Regions from separate parts of the Homo sapiens genome. Here regions 1, 2 and 4 are each linked to region 3. Evidence: promoter capture Hi-C in human tissues and cell types (Jung and others, 2019). All regions are on one chromosome and are shown on one strand. The core of a region is centred on a gene start or on the middle of the fragment in contact, and the rest is flanking DNA. Distances in the headings are between cores, read along the strand shown.

Region 1 (3,102 bases), core at 268-2,767, 240 kb after region 3:
CATTCTTTTTTTTTCTTTTTTTCTCCTCCCTGCCCCCACTACTAATATATTATTTTTAAAAATTCCATATCCAGGCTGGGCATGGTGGCTAATGCTTGTAATCCCAGCATTTTGGGGGGCCGAGGCAAGCGGATCACTTGAGCTCAGAAGTTTGAGACCAGCCTGGCCAACACGGTGAAACCCTATCTCTACTAAAAATACAAAAACTAGCCGGGCGTGGTGGTATGCACCTGTAATCCCAGCTACTCAGGAGGCTGAGGCAGAAGAATTGCTTGAATCCAGGAGGCGGAGGTTGCAATGAGCCGAAATTCGCCACTGCACTCCAGGCCGGGTGACAGAGCGAGATTCTGTCTCAAAAAAAAAAAAAAAATTAAAAAATTCCACATCCAGGCTGGGCGTGGTGGCTCAGGCCTGTAATCCCAGCACTTTCGGAGGATGAGGCAGGAGGATCACTTGAGCCTAGAAGTTTGAGACCAGCCTGGGCAACAGGGCAAGACCCTGTCTCAACAAAAAATTTAAAAAATTAGCTGGGCTTGGTGGCATATGTCTATAGTCCCAGCTACTAGGGAGGCTGAGGCAGGAGGATCACTTGAGCCCAAGAGGTCGAGGCTGCAGTAAACCATGTTCGTGCCACTGTACTCCAGCCTGGGTGATGGAGTGACACCCTGTATCAAAAAATAAATAATTTTTAAAAATCCACATCCAGGCCAGGCGTGGTGGCTCATGCCTGTAATCCCAGCACTTTGGGAGGCCGAGGCGGGCGGATCACCTGAGGCTGGGAGTTTGAGACCACCCTGACCAACATGGAGAAACTCCATCTCAACTAAAAATACAAAATTAGCTGGGTATGGTGGCACATGCCTGTAATCCCAGCTACTCGGGAGGCTGAGGCAGGAGAATCGCTTGAACCCGGGAGGCGGAGGTTGCAGTGAGCCGGAGATCACGCCATTGCACTCCAGCCTGGGCAACAAGAGCGAAACTCCATCTCAAAAAAAAAAACAAAAAACAAAACAAAAAAAACCACATCCAGCTGTTTCAATGTTAGCACCGACGTTTGGGACCTGAGCCAAAGGATGGACTGGGAAATCTTTTCCCAGAATAGACTACTGTCTTTTTTATTTTTATTTTGTTTTGTTTTTTGTTAGAATAGACTCTACTGTCAGCTGCTTTAGTTATACCTGGTACCAGGTATCAGTCCCAGACTCCCTTGTTTAGACATTTCCTGGTGATATTACCACAGGCTCAGGGAAGATAACCTAAGATTAAGCTTTTCCACTAGACACATGACAGTAAGCTTCATTAACGGGACTGACAGCCCCATATGTAACCTTTTTAAGGTATCATTTACACTGTAAAAGAAACAGTAATATTCTGGACAGTTATTTCTAGACAGTTATTTCTCTTTTTTTCTTTTTTTTTGAGACGGAGTTTCGCTCTTGTTGCCGAGGCTGGAGGCTGGAATGTAATGGCGCAATCTTGGCTCACCACAACCTCCGCCTTCTGGGTTCAACCGATTCTCCTGCCTCAGCCTCCCGAGCAGCTGGGACTACAGGCATGTGCCACCATGCCTGGCTAATTTTGTATTTTTAGTACACGGGGTTTCTCCATGTTGGTCAGGCTGGTCTCGAACTCCCGACCTCAGGTGATCTGCCTGGGTCGGCCTCCCAAAGTGCTGGGATTACAGGCATGAGCCACCGCGCCCAGCCTAGACGGTTATTTCTGAACAGTTCTAGCACTGGTCGTGCTCCCTATCCAATTTTTAAGGATATCCTGTGGTCTTCCTACTGACATGTGATATGACCAATACTTTTTCCTGCCCCCACCTCCGAAAGTAAATTAGCTTTTCTGCAAGATTACTCAGTGATTTTGGAAGATATTGTTCTTTTAGAGAATAGCCCTAAAAAAACAAAATTATTTCCAACGGAGCTTCTAACTCTGGATAGCTTGAAAGAAGGGAGGCTGAGGCAGGATGACTGCTTGAGTCTAGGAGTTTGAGGCTGCAGTGAACTAGGACCTATGACTGAGTCACTACACTCCAGCCTGGGCAACAGAGTGAGACCCCATCTCTTGAAAAGCAAACAAACAGGAAGAGATATCTTGTCTACATCTTGTCTAGCATCCTGCTCCTCACCAAAAAAATTTTAAAAGCAAATCATGTTGATATCTAAAAATTCTCTAAGCTGTGAAAAAGTTTCTTCAAATGATATACCCTCTTCTCATTATCCTTTCCTGACTCTAATGATAAACATAATAGTCAAATAGCTTAGTTATTCCCCTAAAATTCAATGGAACATCGAGAACCAAGGGCAATTACAAATGGGTAAAAGAGAATAACAGGAAAAGAAAGCAATAGACTATAAAAAAGAATTACAAGGCAGAGAAAAGAGTAACTCTACAGTGGAAAATCAAATGTATACTATTTCAACCAGGTGATCCTGGTTAATAGAAACAGTGAAAAATCATGTTGACAATGGTTTTTTTTTTCTTTTTTTTTTGAGACAGAGTCTTGCTTTGTTGCCCAGGCTGGAGGGCAGTGGTGCAATCTTGGCTCACTGCAACCTCTGCCTCCCTGGCTCAACTGATTCTTGTGCCTCAGCCTCCTGGGTAGCTGGGATTACAGGCCTGTGTCACCACACCTAGCTAATTTTTGTATTTTTTAGTAAAGACAGGGTTTCTCTATGTTGGCCAGGCTGGTCTTGAACTCCTGGCCTCGAATGATCCACCTGCCTTGACCTCCCAAAGTGCTGGGATTATAGGCGTGAGCCACCACACCAGCCAACAATATGTACTCTTGATCTGATGTGATGAGAATGGCATTATATCTCCACGGTCTTCTTCCCAAAAGCCATAACTCCAGTCTAACCATAAGATAAACATCCAAGTTGAAGAGTGGTCTATAAGATACCTGACCAGTATTCCTCAAAACTGTCAAGATAATCAAAAACAAGTTAACTCTTAGAAACTGTCACAGCCAAAAGGAGCCTAAGGAGACAAAAAGCCTAAATGTAATGTATCAAGGATGGGATCTTAGAACAGAAAAAGGATGTTATGTTAAAGAAAGAAATCAGAAAATCTGAATAGTGTATGCATTTTAGTTAATAA
Region 2 (3,104 bases), core at 569-3,068, 220 kb before region 3:
TGCGACCTCCACCTCCCAGGTTCAAGCAATTCTCCTTCCTCAGCCTCCTGAGTAGCTGAGACTACAGGCATGCGCCACCACGCCCAGCTAATTTTTGTATTTTTTTTTTTTTTTTGGTAGAGATGGGGTTTCACCATGTTGGCCAGGCTGGTCTTGAACTCCTGACCTCAGGTGATCCACCTGCTTTGGCCTCCCAAAGTGTTGGGATTACAGGCGTGAACCATGGTGCCCAGCCAGCATAGATAATTATCTTGACTCTGTCTCTTGGTAAATTTGTGGCATTTCTGGCATGGACTTGCTCAACCACATTTGCTTGCCAGCATCTGCCCCCATACATTCCATCCTCCAGTCCTCTACTAGCTGAACTATCGAAAGCCAGTTCCTTTGCTTATGCAGCCCTTCCCTCCTACTTCAGGGCTCAGGTCATCCTGTCAATTCTTTCCACTCTCCAACCCACATCCATTCCCTACTCCCAGACTGGGCAACACAGTGAGACCCTGTCTCTACAAAAAATTTTAAAATTAGCCGGGGGTGGTGGCATGCTCTTGTATTCACAGACACCTGGGAGGCTGAGGCAGAGAGGGGAGGATCCCTTGTACCCAGGAGTTAAAAGCTGCAGTGAGCCATGATCACATCACTGCTGGGTGACAGAGCAAGACCCTGTCTCAAAAAAAAAAAAAAAAAAAACTGAAAACATCCAGCATATTTGTACACAGGGTTTCAATGTCCCCAATATAATGGATACTGTACTTACTTGTTTATCTTCTTTTGAAAGGAGAGAGAAATCTTTCTTAAGGCCAGACACAGTGACTCACGCCTATAATTCCAGCACTTTGGGAGGATGAGGTGGGCAGATCACTTGAGGCCAGGAGTTCGAGACCAGCCGGGCCAACATGGCGAAACCCTGTCTCTACTAAAAATACAAAAATTAGCCAGGCATCCTGGCATGTGCCTGTAGTCCCAGCTACTCGGGAGACTGAGGCAGGAGAGTCACTTGAAAGCAGGAGGCACGGGACACGGTGGCTCATGCCTGTAATCCCAGCACTTTGGGAGGCCGAGGCAGGTGGATCATGAGGTCAAGAGATCGAGACCATCCTGGACAACATGGTGAAACCCGTCTCTACTAAAAATACAAAAATTAGCTGGGCGTAGTGGTGTGCACTTGTAGTCCCAGCTACTTAGGAGGCTGAGGCAGGAGAATCGCTTGAACTTGGGAGGCGGAGGTTGCAGTGGACCAAGATCGTGCCACTGCACTCCAGCTTGGTGACAGAGGGAGACTCCATCTCAAAAAAAAAAAAAAGAAAGAAACTAGGAAGCAGAGGTTGAAGTGAGCTGAGATTGTGCCACTGCACTCCAGACTGAGCGACAGAGCGAGACTCCATCTCAAAAAAACCCCAAAACTAACTTTCTTTTTCTTTTTCTTTTTTCTGAGACAGAGTCTCGCTCTGGCGCCCAGGCTGGAGTGCAGTGGTGCGATCTCGGCTCACTGCAAGCTCCGCCTCCCGGGTTCACGCCATTCTCCCTCCTCAGCCTCCCGAGTAGCTGGGACTACAGGGGCCCGCCACCACGCCCAGCTAATTTTTTGTATTTTTAGTAGAGACGGGGTTTCACCATTCACAGAATGGTCTCAATCTCCTGACCTCGTGATCTGCCCACCTCGGCCTCCCAAAGTGCTGGGATTACAGGCGTGAGCCACCGCGCCCGGCCAAAACTTTCTTAAAATTTAATACTCTCCAGGAAGTAGAATTTTCATGACATATACTCTACATGTAACTAATGCATTAATACCATCAGAAATACATCTAAACTAGTTTGTTAAAGAAATGATCTTTTCCGGGCCGGGCGTGGTGGCTCACGCCTGTAATCCCAGCACTTTGGAAGGCCGAGGCGGGTGGATCACGAGGTCAGGAGATCGAGACTATCCTGGGTAACACGGTGAAACCCCGTCTCTACTAAAAATACAAAAAAATTAGCCGGGCCTAGTGGCGGGCGCCTGTAATCCCAGCTACTCCGGAGGCTGAGGCAGGAGAATGGCGTGGACCCGGGAGGCGGAGCTTGCAGTGAGCCGAGATCACACCACTGCACTCTGTGACCTGGGCGACAGAGCGAGACTCCGTCTCAAAAAAAAAAAAAGAAAAGAAATGATTTTTCCTCAGCTGTATTTTAAGTTCCACATCAGTGATTCTTAGGAGGAGTGAGAAAGGTCCCACGAAGTAGGTAATTCAAGGGATATCTCAGAATCCCTCGAAATCCTGATATTCCATTTCAGAAGACAGCTTTCCTCAACCACCCCCAATTTCTCCCTGTCCCCCAGGCTGGAGTGCAGTGGTGTGATCTTAGCTCACTGCAACATCTGCCTCCCAATGCCCCAAAATTGAATCCAATCCCTCAATCACTACCAGTATAAATCAATGTAAATGACAGAAGTATAGTGTGTGCTAGGACAAAGGAAAAACAGGTGAAGACCTTATTCTACATAAGCTGGAGAGCAACATTTCATAAATAATTAGAAAATGTACACTTAACCATATACTACTGCTAGGCTTCATCCAAAGTGACAAATATCAAAAAATAAAAAATTGTGGGCTGGGCGCAGTGGCTCACGCCAGTAATTCCAGCACTTTAGGAGGCCAAGGCGGGCAGATCACCTGAGGTCAGGAGTTCCAGACCAGCCTGGCCAACATGGTGAAACCCCACCTCTACCAAAAATACAAAAATTAGCTGGGTGTGGTGGCACATGCTTATAGTCCAAGCTACTTGGGAGGCTGAGGCAGGAGAATGGCTTGAACCCTAGAGGTTGAGGCTGCAGTGAGCCAAGATCACACCATCACCCTCCGGCCTGGGCGACAGAGTGACAAGACTCCATCTCAAAAAAAAAAAAAAAAAAAAAATTGTTGGCTGGGCACGGTGGCTCACATCTGTAATCCCTACACTTTGGGAGGCTGAGGCAGGGGGATCACCTGAGGTCAGGAGTTCGAGACCAGCCTGACCAACATGGAGAAACCCCATCTCTACTAAAAATACAAAATTAGCCCAGCGTGATGGCGCATGCCTGTAATCCCAGCTATTCAGGAAGCTGAGGCAGGAGAATTGCTTGAATCCTG
Region 3 (2,990 bases), core at 27-2,526:
TCCCACAACACACACCTTCAATTTTGATTTGACTTGCCTGGCATCTAGGGGCAAAGGGTGGCCCAGGGTCCCAGATTTTAACAATCATCCAAGGGCCATCATGTTATTCAGAGAGTGGCTTTGTCTGGGTAGGACTGGAGGCAATTGCCCCCAACATCTTGCCCCAAAGTGGCATCAGACACAACTCTTCTGTTCTGTGCCCAAACCATTGCCCTGGTTCAGCCTCAGGAGCTGGAGGAGCTTTGGGCAGGGGAAGAGCTGCACAGTGTGGGGCTGGGTTCAGCCTCTGCTGTGTGACCTTGGATGAGTGACTCACCTCTCTGACCATCTACAAAATGGCGAGGCTCTCCCCATTCACAGGGTGTGGGGAGGAGGACTTGAGCTGCGGATGTGACGCTTCTGACACGTTGCAGGCACACGGCACGTGCTTGTTCCTCGCCATGTCCCCTCACACCTGTGCTGCCATCCTCTGTTGGGGTGGGACAAACTCTGTGGAATTACCCAGAAGTCCCCACCAGAGCCGCTGGCCCTTGGACGTGTGCTTTGAGAGGCATTTCCTGAGCCTGGAGGGTCTGGACACAGGATCAAGTCTGAGTTCCTGACCCCAATTCACTGCCTTGCCCCAGGTGTCGGCCTCCTCGCCAGCCCTGGACAAGATGGGTCATCAGGATGGGACCGTGTGGCACAGCCTGCGGGCTTTGGAGCCAGGCAAACCTGGGCTGGGAATCCTGGCGCTGCCTCGGCCTCCGTGATCTTAGACGGGCAGCCCCACCTCCCTGAGACACCATTTCTCTACAACGGGATCACGCTGCCTGCCTCGTGGGATTTCCGTGGGCACTCAGGGTAATTAATCTAGGGGAAGGCTGACTCTCTACCTGGCACACAGGGAGGCTGTGGTCATGCTGGCCCCACTCACCTTTGCCGGCCTGCTTTCTCCTTCTCTGCCCAGCCTCCTCCCCTCTCCCTCTGTGCTTTTCCAAACCTTCCATGTCCAGCTCTGAGACCCCTGGACCCTGAGCCTCAGCCTTGGCAGATGACCCCTCTCTGTCCTGCTGTGTGCGTGAGCTCCCCCTTCCCAGCCCCCGTCCAGCAGCACCCAGGAGCCTGAGTACAGCTGGGCACCACCCTCTGTGCAGCTATGGTGGGTGGGGAGGCTCCTGTTCCCCTCCCTGTTGGCAGCTCTGCTCTGCTCTGCTCCGGCCTGGGCAGTTCTGATCGGTTTTCAAGGACATTCTAAGTGTTCGCCATAAACCCTGGGCCCAGGCGGGAAAGGGGGGAGGATGTTGATTGTTGGAACACACACCTGTCCAGGTGCAGGGGAGCTGGAGGCTCTGTGAGAGGAGGGCCAGCTCAGCCACAGCAGGAGGACTGACAGGTGAGGGGTCGCTGCAAGATGCTGGGGCCTGCCAGGGCCAGACAGGCAGGGCGGGGGGGGGGGGGTGGTAAGGGCAGGAGCCAGCACCTCACTTTGGCCCTGGTGGGATCTTCTTCTGGGCCTGGGGTTTTGCTGCCTCTGTGGCCTGAGCTGGGGTCAGGGGTGCTCATAGGTGGACAGGGAGAGTCAGAGCCATCCATGGGACTCTGCAGTGAGAGTGTCACAGCCCTGGGCAGAGACTGCTCCCAGCAGTGGAAGCGCCAAGTGACCCAGGAGGGTGGGAGCGGCTGCCACCGAAGGGGAAGGGGCTCTGAGCAGGGCTTGGGCTCCGGCCTGTGCCCAGTCTGCTGCTGGACACAGGGGGACACCTAGGAATCCCACCCCCATCCCACACAATGACACACACAGGCACACACCCTCAGTGACGGAAACTCAGGGATGAAGGCACACACAGACCTAGTGTGATAACTTCACATACACACACACACACACACACACGCACAATCTTTCCTCTTCATGGGTGGGGAGAGCACTGGAAGGGCCTAGAGGCAGTGCGAGGACGTGCAGCAGCTCACCGCGGTCCCTCCCTCTATCCGCTTCTCCAGGGGCCTGATGGAGGAGTTTGTGGGGCTGCGTGAAGGCTCCTCAGGGAACCCTGTGACTCTGCAGGAGCTGTGGGGCCCCTGTCCCCGCATCCGCCGAGGCATCCGAGGTGAGAGCCAGGTCCTCTTCCCTTCCCCCTGGAGGACCACTCAGGACATCATTCCTGCCCAGCTCCCACCCCACCTCCCTGCCCAGGAACCACCCTCCTCCTGGCATTTGTCCAGGACATGACTGCCCAAAGTCTCCTGGGTGGCAGGGAGGGAAGGGGTCTGTCTGTCCAGCTGTCTGTGGGTCAGATGGGCCGGGCATCTGCCCTCTGCCTTTCGGGAGATACAGCCCAAGGCCTGGTCACTGTGCCCATCTTCCACCCAGGCCTCTCCCTCACCTACCTGTGCCAATGAGGGGACGTGGGGGTTAGCTGCTGGGACAGCTGGGGCCACAGCAAGGGGCTGGGGCAGCCTACACTTGGCACCTTTCCTTGGAGCCCCATGTGCTTTGTTCACTTTGAGACCTGACTGTCCCCTCAGCTACGGGGCAGAGCAAGTAGGGACCACAGAAGGAGGCTGACTGCAACCCCAGGGGCTGGTGCCCACAGCCAGTGAGGGCCAGCTCCCAGGCTGGGCTAGCAGCCAGTGGGCCAGGAGCATTGCTGGGGACCCAGAGGATACCTGGCGCCACAGGTCCTGGGACACGCAGGAGTCTGCTAGATCCTGGTGCTCTCTAAGCTATGGACTCTGCGGGGATGCAGGTGAAAGCTGTAGCTGCCAGCCCCCTCCATACTCCCTGTCCCCCAGGAACCTCCCAGTACAGGCAGGGATGCGGAGGGTCGGCAGGTCAACGGCTTTCTGGTAGGGGCAGCAGTCCTGGCACCCACTGTGTCACCACTGTCACCTCCCACAAATCCTGCCCGGCCACTTATGTGAGGCAGGGCCCCCTCGGGACTACCCCAGAGTATACCACCAAGCTCCATCCCCCTGCCCCAGCCTCTCTGCCTGAAGCCCAGCAGGCCTCC
Region 4 (3,011 bases), core at 352-2,851, 170 kb before region 3:
TCAGGAGCTGAGTTCTAGTTCTCTACAAAAGTAGAGAACTTACGATTTCTTTATAGGATTATAACTAGTTTTTAATATTAACACATAATTGCATGTGTGTAATCGTACATGCAACGTGTTTTGTACTTTTTAGGTTGACAGGTATTCACATCCTACTAAATGATTGTTTAAGTTAAGCTATTTTGCTAATAGCGACCTTAGAATATCTTATAGTTCCTAATGTTACCTAATTTCATCACAGGCAATTTGAGTATAGCTAAAAGCCAAAAGAACATATTTCCTACAACCATTGAGTTTATACATTAAGAAATTGAATCATGGAATAGGCATTTTTAAAGTCATTTGGAATTTGATAGCACAGGAGTAAATAATTTTTATTTTTATTTAAATTCACATAGAGTAGCATGTGGTAACCCAATATTTTGATACTTGAAGTGGTTTTTTTTTGAGATTCTATTTTTATTATTAAATGTAATTGGGTACCGCTGTGCAGTCTATGTAGTCTAGTTTATGTAGTCCAGTAATTTTTTATAACTATCCAAGCAGTCAAAACTTAATGAAAAAAAGTTAAACTTAGAAAATTTTTTCTGGACTTCTTGAAAGTCCTTCCTATTGTTGAGACATGCGCTGCAGCAGGGCTTTCATGTCTAAGTTAAAACATAGCATGGAAATGTGGCCTAAAAGAAATTTGTGAGTAAATAAAATTTGGTATATACTTTAATCAGATGAAAGTGTAAAAACTTTCATATTATTAAAATAGTCTCTTGTTCCGTTAACATGAAAAGGAGATTGTATATTTATGTATGCAAGTCAGAAAATCTCTAATAAAGTAAGCAAGTGAGCTGCAGAACACTAGTCATGAAAGCCCAATATACAATGAAAACAATGATTGCTCAGCTGTGAAAATAATTTTTGGAGTCAAGTAAAATGTTAAGCTTGTTAGCGTTTGCTTATTAAGTAGGTTAATGCTGTTTAGAAAATGACCAGTTGCAAAGACAAAGACAATGCTGAAGTGAATGTTTGCATGACTTGCTTTTAGTTTTGCTTGCTCCTTTCTGATTAAATATTTTTCCCCCTCCTAAATGCAGGGCTTCAGATAACAGGGAGCGTGCTTATGAACATAGTGCCTATGGACACCATGAACGGGGGACGGGAGGATTTGATCGGACAAGACATTACGATCAGGATTACTATAGAGATCCTCGAGAGCGGACTTTACAACATGGGCTCTATTACGCTTCTCGGAGTCGAAGTCCAAATCGCTTTGATGCTCATGACCCCCGATATGAACCTAGGGCTCGCGAGCAGTTTACACTGCCCAGTGTGGTACACAGGGATATCTACAGGGATGATATTACCCGGGAGGTACGAGGCAGAAGGCCAGAGCGGAATTACCAGCACAGCAGGAGTCGGTCACCACATTCATCCCAGTCTAGAAATCAGTCTCCTCAGAGACTGGCTAGCCAAGCATCTAGACCCACAAGGTCCCCTAGCGGCAGCGGCTCTAGAAGTAGATCCTCCAGTAGTGATTCAATCAGCAGCAGCAGTAGTACCAGCAGTGACAGGTAGGTTAACAGCCTTTTGTTATAACAGATGAGCTAGCTTTAAACAAATTCTCAACAATCAGTGGGAATGGTTTCAGCATAGTATTATTTTTTAAAGTAATCTTGGATCATATATGTATGTAATCAGTAAAGAAACTGGCATGTGGCCATTGAATTAACTGTTCTAAGTACTCGAAGTTAAGTGATGATTTGCAAAGTTCTGTTTCATCCTCCAGATGCACAGTATTAAAATTAAATGATCAAAGTGGAAGGGAGGTGGTGACTCTAGCTGTGCAAGGCAAATCTTGTGACACTGAAAATATGGTATCTCTTTAACATTTTTAATTTTGTAGGTGTATAATACCAATTTATTTCTATTATTTTGATTGAAGATTTGTAAAAGCTGTTTGGTTAAATATGTATTGGTGAAATATAATATTGTTGACACATTTATTATCAATGACTAGATCAACTTATGAACAAATTTTAGCTAATTTTAACATCAGGGTGGTAGCCAATTTATAAACTCAAGTAGAAAAGCTTCCTTTGAATGCAGGTTGTAACTTTACTGTTCTGTAAACTGATCTCACTAGTTGAGAATTTCTTTCTACAAATATATATATATATTTTAAAGACAGTCTCACTGTGTCACCAAGGCTGGAGTGCAGTGGTGTAGCCTTGGCTCACGGCAACCTCTGCCTTCTGGGTTCCAGCAGTCCTCCTGCCTCAGCCTCCCAAGTAGCTGGGATTACAAACGTGCGCAACCACGCCTGGCTAATTTTGTATTTAGTAAAGATGAGGTTTTGCCATGTTGGCCAGGCTGTTCTTGAACTCCTGACCTCAAGTGATTTGCCCACCTCATCCTCCCAAATTGCTGGGATTACAGGCATGAGCCAGAGTGCCCAGCCAAAAAGTTTTATTTGAAAAGCGAAAATAGTAAGTTGAGGGTAATCTTAATAAGAAACTTAGCTTCAAACCTAGTTATATGGATTTTGAAATCACAGATCTGGGTATGTGGTATAGATTATCCTTTAAGTAATCTAGGATAAGTTATTTATGTTCTTCAGGTCTCAGCTTTCCCTTTTTTTTTTTTTTTTTTTTTTTGAGATGGAGTCTCGCTCTTGTCACCTAGGCTGGAGTGCAATGGCGTGATCTTGGCTCACAGCACCCTCCACCTCCTGGGTTCAAGTGAGTCTTCTGCCTCAGCTTCCCATGTAGCTGAGATTACAGGCACCCATCACCATGCCAGGCCAATTTTTGTATTTTTAGTAGAAACGGGGTTTTACCGTGTTGGCCAGGCTGGTCTCTAACTCCTGACCTCAGGTGATTCACCTGCCTTGGCCTCCCAGAGTGTTGGGATTACCAGTGTGAGCTACTGCGCCTGGCCAAGCTTTCTCATTTTTAATAAGGACCTTAATAAAGTTATTGTGAAAATTAAAATGAACACTTAATGTAAAATGCTTACTT

Evidence for each region. Contacts are between HindIII fragments. The study calls those that stand out against the background at their distance.
Region 1: a fragment that was not itself captured here is called in contact with the fragment with the promoter of CLCNKB in region 3 in 1 of the 25 tissues and cell types used here (aorta).
Region 2: a fragment that was not itself captured here is called in contact with the fragment with the promoter of CLCNKB in region 3 in 1 of the 25 tissues and cell types used here (aorta).
Region 4: a fragment that was not itself captured here is called in contact with the fragment with the promoter of CLCNKB in region 3 in 2 of the 25 tissues and cell types used here (hippocampus and spleen).

The regions. Positions count from the first base shown.
Region 1 is chr1:16,277,370-16,280,471 of GRCh38, forward strand. All of the region lies in intron 4 of FBXO42 (F-box protein 42), which reads right to left. Among named protein-coding and RNA genes, the nearest start is that of CPLANE2, 42 kb to the left of the region's middle. The HindIII fragment of the contact is 3,965 bases long and covers 1-3,102 here.
Region 2 is chr1:15,820,301-15,823,404 of GRCh38, forward strand. No RefSeq gene overlaps it. Among named protein-coding and RNA genes, the nearest start is that of UQCRHL, 14 kb to the left of the region's middle. The HindIII fragment of the contact is 5,316 bases long and covers 1-3,104 here.
Region 3 is chr1:16,042,506-16,045,495 of GRCh38, forward strand. CLCNKB (chloride voltage-gated channel Kb) reads left to right here and starts at 1,277. Exons shown (of 20, transcript NM_000085.5): 1 at 1,277-1,375; 2 at 1,981-2,087. The coding sequence starts at 1,988. The HindIII fragment of the contact is 23,589 bases long and covers 1-2,990 here.
Region 4 is chr1:15,875,114-15,878,124 of GRCh38, forward strand. SPEN (spen family transcriptional repressor) reads left to right here. Exons shown (of 15, transcript NM_015001.3): 3 at 1,089-1,565. Among named protein-coding and RNA genes, the nearest start is that of SPEN-AS1, 28 kb to the left of the region's middle. The HindIII fragment of the contact is 3,998 bases long and covers 1-3,011 here.